2 separate regions of the Homo sapiens genome follow, and region 2 is linked to region 1. Evidence: promoter capture Hi-C in 16 types of primary human blood cells and fetal thymus (Javierre and others, 2016). All regions are on one chromosome and are shown on one strand. The core of a region is centred on a gene start or on the middle of the fragment in contact, and the rest is flanking DNA. Distances in the headings are between cores, read along the strand shown. Region 1 holds the start of C19orf38 (chromosome 19 open reading frame 38). Region 2 holds the start of EIF3G (eukaryotic translation initiation factor 3 subunit G).

Region 1 (4,722 bases), core at 197-2,696:
TGTGCAAAGGCCCTGAGGTTGGATTGAACTTTCTGTGTCCAAAGAAAAAAGTTTACTCTAATGACGCATTTTGGTGTTTGATGACCACATGCCACATCCTTCTTGGGTCCAAACCCCCAAGCAAACCTGACTGGCTTGAACAGAAATGTTTAAAAAGATAAATGCAAACCCAGTAGTAAGAGAAACTTGGAAGTTTCTGGGCTGTAAACAGGAGGCAGTTTATCCTGTGAACTATATCACAAACTATATCCAGAATTGATCTGGAACTGGTATTCCCTTTCATGTGGCTGATCAAACTTCTGAGTCTTTTTCCTCCCTGTAACTTTACCTTGTGAGCATGCACTACCCACTAGGCGTTGCATTTCCTACTACAAGTTCTTTGAATCTAATGTCCACTGCTCTTTTTTTTTTTTTTTTTTTTTGAGATGGAATTTCACTCTTGTTGCCCAGGCTGGAGTGCAATGGCGCGATCTCAACTCACCACAATCTCCATCTCCTGGGTTCAAGTGATTCTCCTGCCTCAGCCTCCCGAGTAGCTGGGATTACAGGCGTGTGCCACCACGCCCGGCTAATTTTTTGTATATAGTAGAGACGGGGTTTCACCACGTTGGCCTGGTCTCGAACTCCTGACCTCAGGTGATCTGCCCACCTCAGCCTCCCAAAGTGCTGGGATTACAGGCGTGAGCCACCACGTCTGGCCTAATGTCTACTACTCTTAGCCCCATTCTGCAGAGCAGTATACTGAAGCCTCAAAGGAGGTAAGCCATGCCTGAGGTCACAGAGGCCAAGCCCTAACCACCATGTCCTCCCACTCCTGCCCATATTTGTTTAAATGTTGGTGCTGGTTAGGCTATGGTTTGTGTCTTGGGCATGGGTTTCCAAACATCCCACTGCTGTCACCCTGTCTCATTCCCAGGAGTTCTCTTAGAAGGAGAGACAAAAGGCTGGGCACGGTGGCTCACGCCTGAAATCCCAGCACTTTGGGAGGCTGGGGCGGGCAGATAATGAGGTCAAGAGATCGAGACCATCCTGGCCAACACAGCAAAACCCCGTCTCTACTAAAAATACAAAAATTAGCTGTGCATGATGGCTCCTGCCTGTAGTCCCAGCTACTCAGGAGGCTGAGGCAGGAGAATCACTCGAACCTGGGAGGTGGAGGCTGCAGTGAGCCGAGATCGCTCCACTGCACTCCAGCCTGGGCAACAGAGCAAGACTCTGTCTCAAAAAATAAAAATAAAAAAAGAGGAAAAAATTGTGAAAACCACCTAAACATCTCATCCATTTTTTTCCCCTCTAATCTGCAGAACCGCAACCAGAGAGGTGCGCGGGTCTGATGTGTGTTTGGGGAAGGGGTGGGGAGGGGAGAGAGTCCCTTTCAGTGCCCAAGCCTGTGTGTGCAACTTCCTGCCAGTGAGGAAACTCTCAGCTCGAGAATCAGCCCTGGTTCTCCTTTCCCCGATCTGGCCTCACAGGAGGAGTTGGCGGGGAGCCTTGGGCCCCTCTGGCCTCAGCCGGATTTCCCAGCCAAACGCAGAGAGAGATGCCCTGGACCATCTTGCTCTTTGCAGCTGGTGAGTCTGAAGCCCCCCTCTCAGATCCCCCACGCCTTTCCCCCCATCCTCTGTCCACCTTGCCGCTCCAGGGGCAGAAACCAGTGCAGGGGCTGCCGTTCTCAGGGCATCGAGGAGGCTGAGCCCTTGGCAGATGGGTTTTCCCCCTGAGCCTTGGAAACTCTCCAGTAGTGTTGGTTTTTTCTTCTTAGGCTCCTCATCACCCCCAAGTTTATGAATATCAGAAATATCACCCCTCTGGAGTCAGCTGTGCCCACACCCCATGATTCAGCCCCGCTTCGTCTCTGAAGGCTCCTTGAGTGCTGGGGCAGCAGGAGGGTCTACCTAGGGGGATATCAGTGTGGCAGGGGTGGGTGGGGGTTGGAGGCTGGACGAGGGAGGGTTTGTATAGACCTCACCTGGCCAGACACTCTGCTCAGAAGCCTGTGGGCAATCAGGAGAGAGATGGATCCCCAGGAGACCATCCTGCAGGAAGCCGTGCTCCAAAATCCGTATTCTTCACCCAAGCCTGGGAAAGGAGATAAAAGTCCTCTGCCCTTCCTTCTCCTGCCCTCCCTCTCACTCACCCCCTCCCCTTCCTGCCACCCACCTCACTCACCCCCTCCCTCCTGCCATGATGGCCTCCTTGCTGCTCCTTTTTTAATATTTATTTTTATTTTTAAATAGAGACAGGGTCTCACTGTGTTCTCCAGGCTAGTCTCAAATTCCTGGGCTCAAGCAGTCCTCCCACCTTGGCCTCCCAAAGTGCTGGGATTACAGGCGTGAGCCACTGCATCAGGTGTTTGCTCCTCCTTAAACACCCCCATTCCCCTTCCATCCCCTGGACCTTTGCCTATGCTGTTCCCTCTGTTGGAATGCCCTTCCCCAGCTCTCCAAATGGGTCCTTCCTCACCACTCAGGACTCAGCTCGTGGGAGGCCAAGGTGGGAGGATCACTTGAGGTGAGGATCTGGGCAACATAGTGAGATCCCATCTCTACACAAAATAAGCAAAATTAGCTAGCCAGGTTCACCAGCCTGGCCAACATGGTGAAACCCCGTCTCTACTAAAAATATAAAAATTAGCCAGGCATGGTGGCACATAGTCCCAGGTACTCAGGAGGCTGAGGCCACTGTACTCCAGCCTGGGCGACAAAGCAAGATTTTGTCTCTAAATAAATAAATAAAGTAATAATAAATTAAATAAAAAATAAGAGTATAGTTGTGTTGCTATGTAATAACCAATGCTATTATTGAAAACTGATGGCCAGGCATGGTAGCTCACGCCTATAATCCCAGCACTTTGGGAGGCCGAGGTGGGGGGAGTCACACGAGGCCAGGAGTTCGAGACCAGTCTGGCCAATATAGTGAAACCCCATCTCTACTAAAAATATAAAAATTGGCCAGGCATAGTGCCACATGCCTGTAATCCTAGCTACTTGGGAGGCTGGAGAATCACTTGAACCCGGGAGGTGGAGGCTGTAGTGAGCCGAGATCACACCACTACATTCCATCCTGGGTGGCAGAGTGAGACTCCGACTCACAAAAAAAAGAAAAAAGAAAAGTAATTCAACTACAGGGAGCCGTCACCATGTGCCAGGCAGTGTGGGGTAGGGTCACTAGCCTCCTGACTCACAGAAAACACAAGGCTGAGGGAGGGTGGTCTACTTGCCCGAGGCCACATAGCCAGGGCAGCCTCCACTCTCACCACGCACCCACCCACCTTACCCTCTGCATTGCAGGCTCCTTGGCGATCCCAGCACCATCCATCCGGCTGGTGCCCCCGTACCCAAGCAGCCAAGAGGACCCCATCCACATCGCATGCATGGCCCCTGGGAACTTCCCGGGGGCGAATTTCACACTGTATCGAGGGGGGCAGGTGGTCCAGCTCCTGCAGGCCCCCACGGACCAGCGCGGGGTGACATTTAACCTGAGCGGCGGCAGCAGCAAGGCTCCAGGGGGACCCTTCCACTGCCAGTATGGAGTGTTAGGTGAGCTCAACCAGTCCCAGCTGTCAGACCTCAGCGAGCCCGTGAACGTCTCCTTCCCAGGTAAGGCCCTTCTATGGGATCTCACTGCCGGGGGCTTAATTTTCTCACATGGACCTCTTGTGTGTACTGTTGACTCAGAGGCCTTCCCAGAAAAAGCCAGGCTTACACCCTGCCAGGACTTACTCGCCTTTCCTTTTTCAATCTTCTCAGCCAGCCCAAAAGGGGATTTGTTGGTTCACTGAGCTTAAGTCAGCTCACAGGGCCGACTTCAGGTATGGCTAGATCCAGGTGCTGAAAGCTGTCAGGGACCATTTGCCCCATCTCTGCTCCACATTCTTCTCCGTCTTATTGTCAGGCAGCCCGTCTCCCTCTTGGTGCCAAAATTGGTGCTGTGATTCTTCCCATTTTGCAGATAAGGAAACTGAGGCACAGGAGGTACACACCTTGTACACAGGTAACAGGTAGCCAGTCTGGGATGCCATTGCCTTCCAAAAACCATGAATTACACCTCCGTGACATACATTACTTCCCCTCTTGGCCACATACTTTTTTTGTTTGTTTGCTTTGAGATAGTTATGCTCTTGTTGCCCAGGCTGGAGTGCAGTGGCACGATCTTGGCTCACTGCAGCCTCTGCCTCCTGGTTCAAGCGATTCTTCTGCCTCAGCCTCCTGAGTATCTGGGATTACAGGTGTGTGCCACCATGCCCGGCTAATTTTTGTATTTTTAGTAAAGACAGGATTTCACCATGTTGGCCAGGCCAGTCTCGAACCCCTGACCTCATGATCCGCCTACCTCAGCCTCCCAAAGTGCTGGAATTACAGGCATGAGCCACTGCACCTGGCTTTTTTTTTTTTTTAAATGAGACAAGGTCGTGCAGACTAGAGGGCAATGGCACAATCATAGCTCACTTCATCCTCCAATTCCTATCCTCAAGTGATCCTCCCACCTCAGCCTCCTAAGTAGCTGAGACTACAGGTGTGCACCACCATGCCCAGCTAATTTAAAAAATTATTTTAGAGATGAGGGTCTAAAATGTTGACCAGGGCCGGACATGGTAGCTCATGCTTGTAATCCCAGTACTTTGGGAAGCTGAGGTAGGTGGATCACCTGAGGTCAGAGCTTAAGACCAGCCTGGCCAACATGGTGAAACCCTATGTCTATTAAAAATACAAAAAATAGGCT
Region 2 (4,160 bases), core at 1-2,500, 730 kb before region 1:
TGGGGAAGAAGAGCCTCACCTTCCTCCTTGCGACAGCCTTTGAAGCCTTCCGGGTCTCAATCCTGAAGGTGCGGACAATCTGAGGATGGGAGGGGAGAAGGGTCAGGCTCCTGGGACCAAGGGATCTCCTTTATCAACCTCCTCAACACACCCCACCCCATTCCGGTCTATGGGCCCCCAAGCACAAGGGTCCCCACTCCCTGCACCCCCCACCCTCACCTTGAACTTCTTGCCATCCTCATCTATCTTGTACTCTGTCACTGTCTTTATGTTTCCGTTGATGACCTCCTTGGGAGGCGGCAGTGGAGCTGGCAGAAGGGGAAAAACAGAGAAAGACTGAGCCCTGGGTCATGGGGATCAGGAGCGGCAGGGCTGGAGGGAGAGGCAGCCCGGACACCGAGTGGCAGTCCTCACTCACCTCCCGGCAGTCCTCACTCACCTCCCGGCAGTAGCTCTGGCTCTGGGCTGGTGTCACCTGTGGCCAGAGGGATCCCCTTGAGGAGCTCGCTGGTGACACATTTGTCTGCAAAAGGCAGCGTAGGAAGGAGGAGTCAGCTCCAGGGGCAGGAGCTCCCCAGCTGCGATGGAAGGGCTTTTGGGATGACGCCTACAGCAAAAGCGGAGAAAGGCAGGCCAAGGGCAGAGGGCTGGCCAGGCAACGCACTGGGATGGCCCTGTGGGGACTCGGAGTGGCAAGGATGGGAGATCCCTCGTAGGAAGGTGGGTGCCAGGCCATGAAGCCAACCAGGCGCCAGTAGAGAAACAGGAGACGGGAGATTACAACTTCCTCCCTGGAGGGGAACAGCTGGGAGGCAGTGGCATGGGAGGAAGAGGGACCCGCCGGGGAACACCTGGAGTTGGCAACAGGCGGGTCCCAAGGAGGATGGCGCGGGGCAGGGGCAGACCGTGACGGGGTACACGGTGCCAGACTGGGAGATGGAAGCAGGCGGCAGTCACACGGCTTGGGCCTGGCCGCGAATACCCCGGGCGACCGTGTACACTTACCGTCCTCCCCCTCCTCCTCCACCTGGTCGGCCCAACTGGGCTTCGAACTGCGGAAACAAATGTGTGGGGAACGAAGATTAAGTCAGCCAGGCCCGGCTCCCGCAGCCTCGGCGTACCCAGGCCCCATAATACTTCCCAGAGCACCCCAACCGCTTCCCGTGCCCCTTTCCGCGATCGCCGACTCACTCAAAGTCTCCAGTAGGCATCGCAAAAAGTATTCTCCACGCAGCCCAAGCCCGGCCAGAGAGCGGAAGCGGGCGAAAACGAGACTTCCGGTGCCGCCGTCGCCGCCTAGAGGGGCCCAGCCGCGGCACCCACAGCGACACCTGCGGACGGAGGTGGAGGCGCACGCGGCTGTGTATGCTACTGGGCGCTGCTGGTACCAGAGTAGGGCCAGCGGGGGCAGAGGCTGATTTCAGGGCTGGTCCTATTAACCTTTAAAATTAAAATAGGCCAGGCGAGGTGGCTCAAGCCTGTAATCCTCGCACTTTGGGAGGTCGAGGCGGGCGGATCACCTGAGGTAAGGAGTTCGAGACCAGCTTGGCCAACGTGGCGAAACCCCGTCACTACTAAAAACACAAAAATTAACTGGGCGTGGTAGTGCGTGCCTGCAGTTCCAGCTACTCGGGAGGCTGAGGCAGGAGAATCGCTTGAACCCGGGAGGCGGAGGTTGCAGTGAGCCGAGATCGCGCCACTGCACTCCAGCCTGGCGACAGAGCGAGACACCGTCTCAAAAAAAAAAAAAAAAAAAAAATTAGCCAGGCGTGGTGGTGGGCACCTGTAATCCCAGCTACTCGGGAGGCTGAGGCGGGAGAATCGCTTGAACCCAGGAGGCGGAGGCTGCAGTGAGCCGAGATCGCACCACTGCACTCCAGCCTGGGGCTGCAGAGTGAGACTCCGTCTCAGAAAAATAAGTAAAATTAAAATAAATAATAATAATCATAAAGCTCACTTATTGAGTGCTTATTGTATATGAAGCATGGTGAGGAGGATATTACTTCCATTTTACAGCTGAAGAAACTGAGGCTCAGACTGGGTGCAGTGGCGCCTGCCTGTAATCCCGCACTTTGGGAGACCAAGGCGTGGGGATGGCTTGAGGCCAGGAGTTTGAGACAAGCCTGGGCAACATAGTGAGACCCCTGTCTCTAAAAAAGAAAAAAAGAAAAAGAAAGAAAAAAGAAACCAAAGTTCGGGGAAAACAATCCTTTTGCTTAAACTGTTCCTTGTCTTCTTTCCCGATCCCAATGATTCAGATGCCAAGTGGCCTCCCCTCAGCCACTCCCTCTTCTTTTCTTTGTAGCATTCTTGGCTTTCCGGTATAATTTTGTGCATTTACTTGTTTATTGCTCAGCTCCTTGCTCTAAGCACAACCGTCCTCAGTCGAAGTGATTCATGATGACTCCCCAGGGGAAAAAACTGGTCCTCAGGGAGGAAAAAAATCTTAGATATTGTGGTCTTCCAAAGCCAGCTCTATCAGACAGCATTTATCCCTAAGTATTTAGTTTCTGCCTTTAGGGAGATATTAAATGTAATTAAATTGAAATTAATTTAGTTGATGTAAATTCAATTTTAGGATAATTCGGGTTTTCTCCTAAGAAGGGTGATAATGAACAAAAAACGTTTGACAATGTCGGACGCAGTGGCTCACGCCTGTAATCCCAGCACTTTGAGAGGCCAAGATGGGCAGATCTCTTGAAGTCAGGAGTTCGAGACCAGCCTGGGCAATATGGCGAAACCCCGTCTTTACTAAAAATACAAAAATTAGCTGGGTGTGGTGGCCCGCGCCTGTAATCCCAGAACTTTGGGAGACTGAGGCAGAAGGATCACTTCAGCCCTGGAATTCGACCAGCCTGGGCAACACATAGTGAGACCCCCCATCTCTAAAAAACAACTTTTTTTTTTTTTTTTGAGATGGAGTCTCACTCTGTCGCCCAGGCTGGAGTGCAGCGGCGCAATCGCGGCTCACTGCAACCTCTGCCTTCCGGGTTCTAGTGATTCTCCTGCCTCAGCCTCCCGAGTAGCTGGGATTACAGATGACCACCACCACGCCGTGCTAATTTTTGTGTTTTTAGTAGACGGTTTAGTAGAGACGGGGGCCCACCTCGGCCTCCCAAGGTGCTGGGATTACAGGTGTGAGCCACTGCGCCCGGCCCTTAAAAAAATTTTTTTTTTTTAATCAGCTGGGCATAGTTCTGTGTGCCTGTAGTCCCAGATACTCAGGAGGCTGAGGTGGGAGAACAGCTTCAGCCCAGGAGGTTGAGCCATGATCATGCGACTGTACTTCAGCCTGGGTAACAGAGAGAGACCCTGTCTCAAAAACACACACACGCACACACACACACGCAACAAAACAAAAAATAACTTGTAAGGGAGAATGCCCTGAGAAAAATAAATAAGAAGACAGGAAAAAAAAGTTTATGCTTTTTTATCCTCTGAGTTGTGAGTGAGGAGGCCACTCAAGTGTTTGGAATATCACCAACTTTTCTTGTGGAAAAAATTATTCTAGAAGCCTGTAGAGAGCCAAGTGGAAGGGAAAACATTAGCTGGAGAGCAGGAAAGAGAGGCACGCCGCTGTGGCCTTTCAGGAGGGTGGCCTGGCTATATTGGTGAAAATATGAAGCTGGTCCAAAGGACTGATAAACATTTTTACAAGCTTACTCAAATGTACTCTGAGCAACACAAAATCCAAACAACCCAGCAGATTGGGCAAAGCTTCAAAAATTCGATATCACCCCGTGGTAGTAAAGATGTTATAGGGAAACAGGCTGGGCACCTGTAATCGGGAGGCCGAGGTGGGTGGATCACCTGAGGTTAGGAGTTCAAGACCAGCCCCTGGCCAACATGGTGAGATGCCGTCTCTACTAAAAATACAAAAAAAAAAAAAAAAAAATCTGGCCATGGTGGTGGGTGCCTGTAATCCCAGCTACTTGGGAGGCTGAGGCAGGAGAATCGCCATTGCACTCCAGCCTGGGCGACAGAGCAAGACTCCATCTCAAAAAAAAAAAAAAAAAAAAGAGGAAGCGATATATAAAATGGCATATATTACAGGAACCAATTTGTGTAAATCTTCAACAGCACATAGATATGCAGATATATGCAAATCATTTCCTGGAAAGAAAGAATCAGAACCTGTTAATGAGGAATGCTTTGGAAAG

What was found. The method cuts DNA at HindIII sites, captures the fragments that hold promoters and counts their contacts. A CHiCAGO score of 5 or more calls a contact.
Region 2: a contact is called between the fragment with the promoter of EIF3G here and the fragment with the promoter of C19orf38 in region 1, in 1 of 17 cell types (monocytes). The highest score is 6.0, in monocytes.

Annotation. Positions count from the first base shown.
Region 1 is chr19:10,846,969-10,851,690 of GRCh38, forward strand. C19orf38 (chromosome 19 open reading frame 38) reads left to right here and starts at 1,447. Exons shown (of 7, transcript NM_001136482.3): 1 at 1,447-1,571; 2 at 3,291-3,599. The coding sequence starts at 1,541. The HindIII fragment of the contact is 13,315 bases long and covers 1-4,722 here.
Region 2 is chr19:10,118,649-10,122,808 of GRCh38, forward strand. EIF3G (eukaryotic translation initiation factor 3 subunit G) reads right to left here and starts at 1,251. Exons shown (of 11, transcript NM_003755.5): 1 at 1,192-1,251; 2 at 1,006-1,052; 3 at 440-523; 4 at 220-308; 5 at 20-79. The coding sequence starts at 1,211. RefSeq lists enhancers at 1-753, 754-1,509. The HindIII fragment of the contact is 4,736 bases long and covers 1-3,656 here.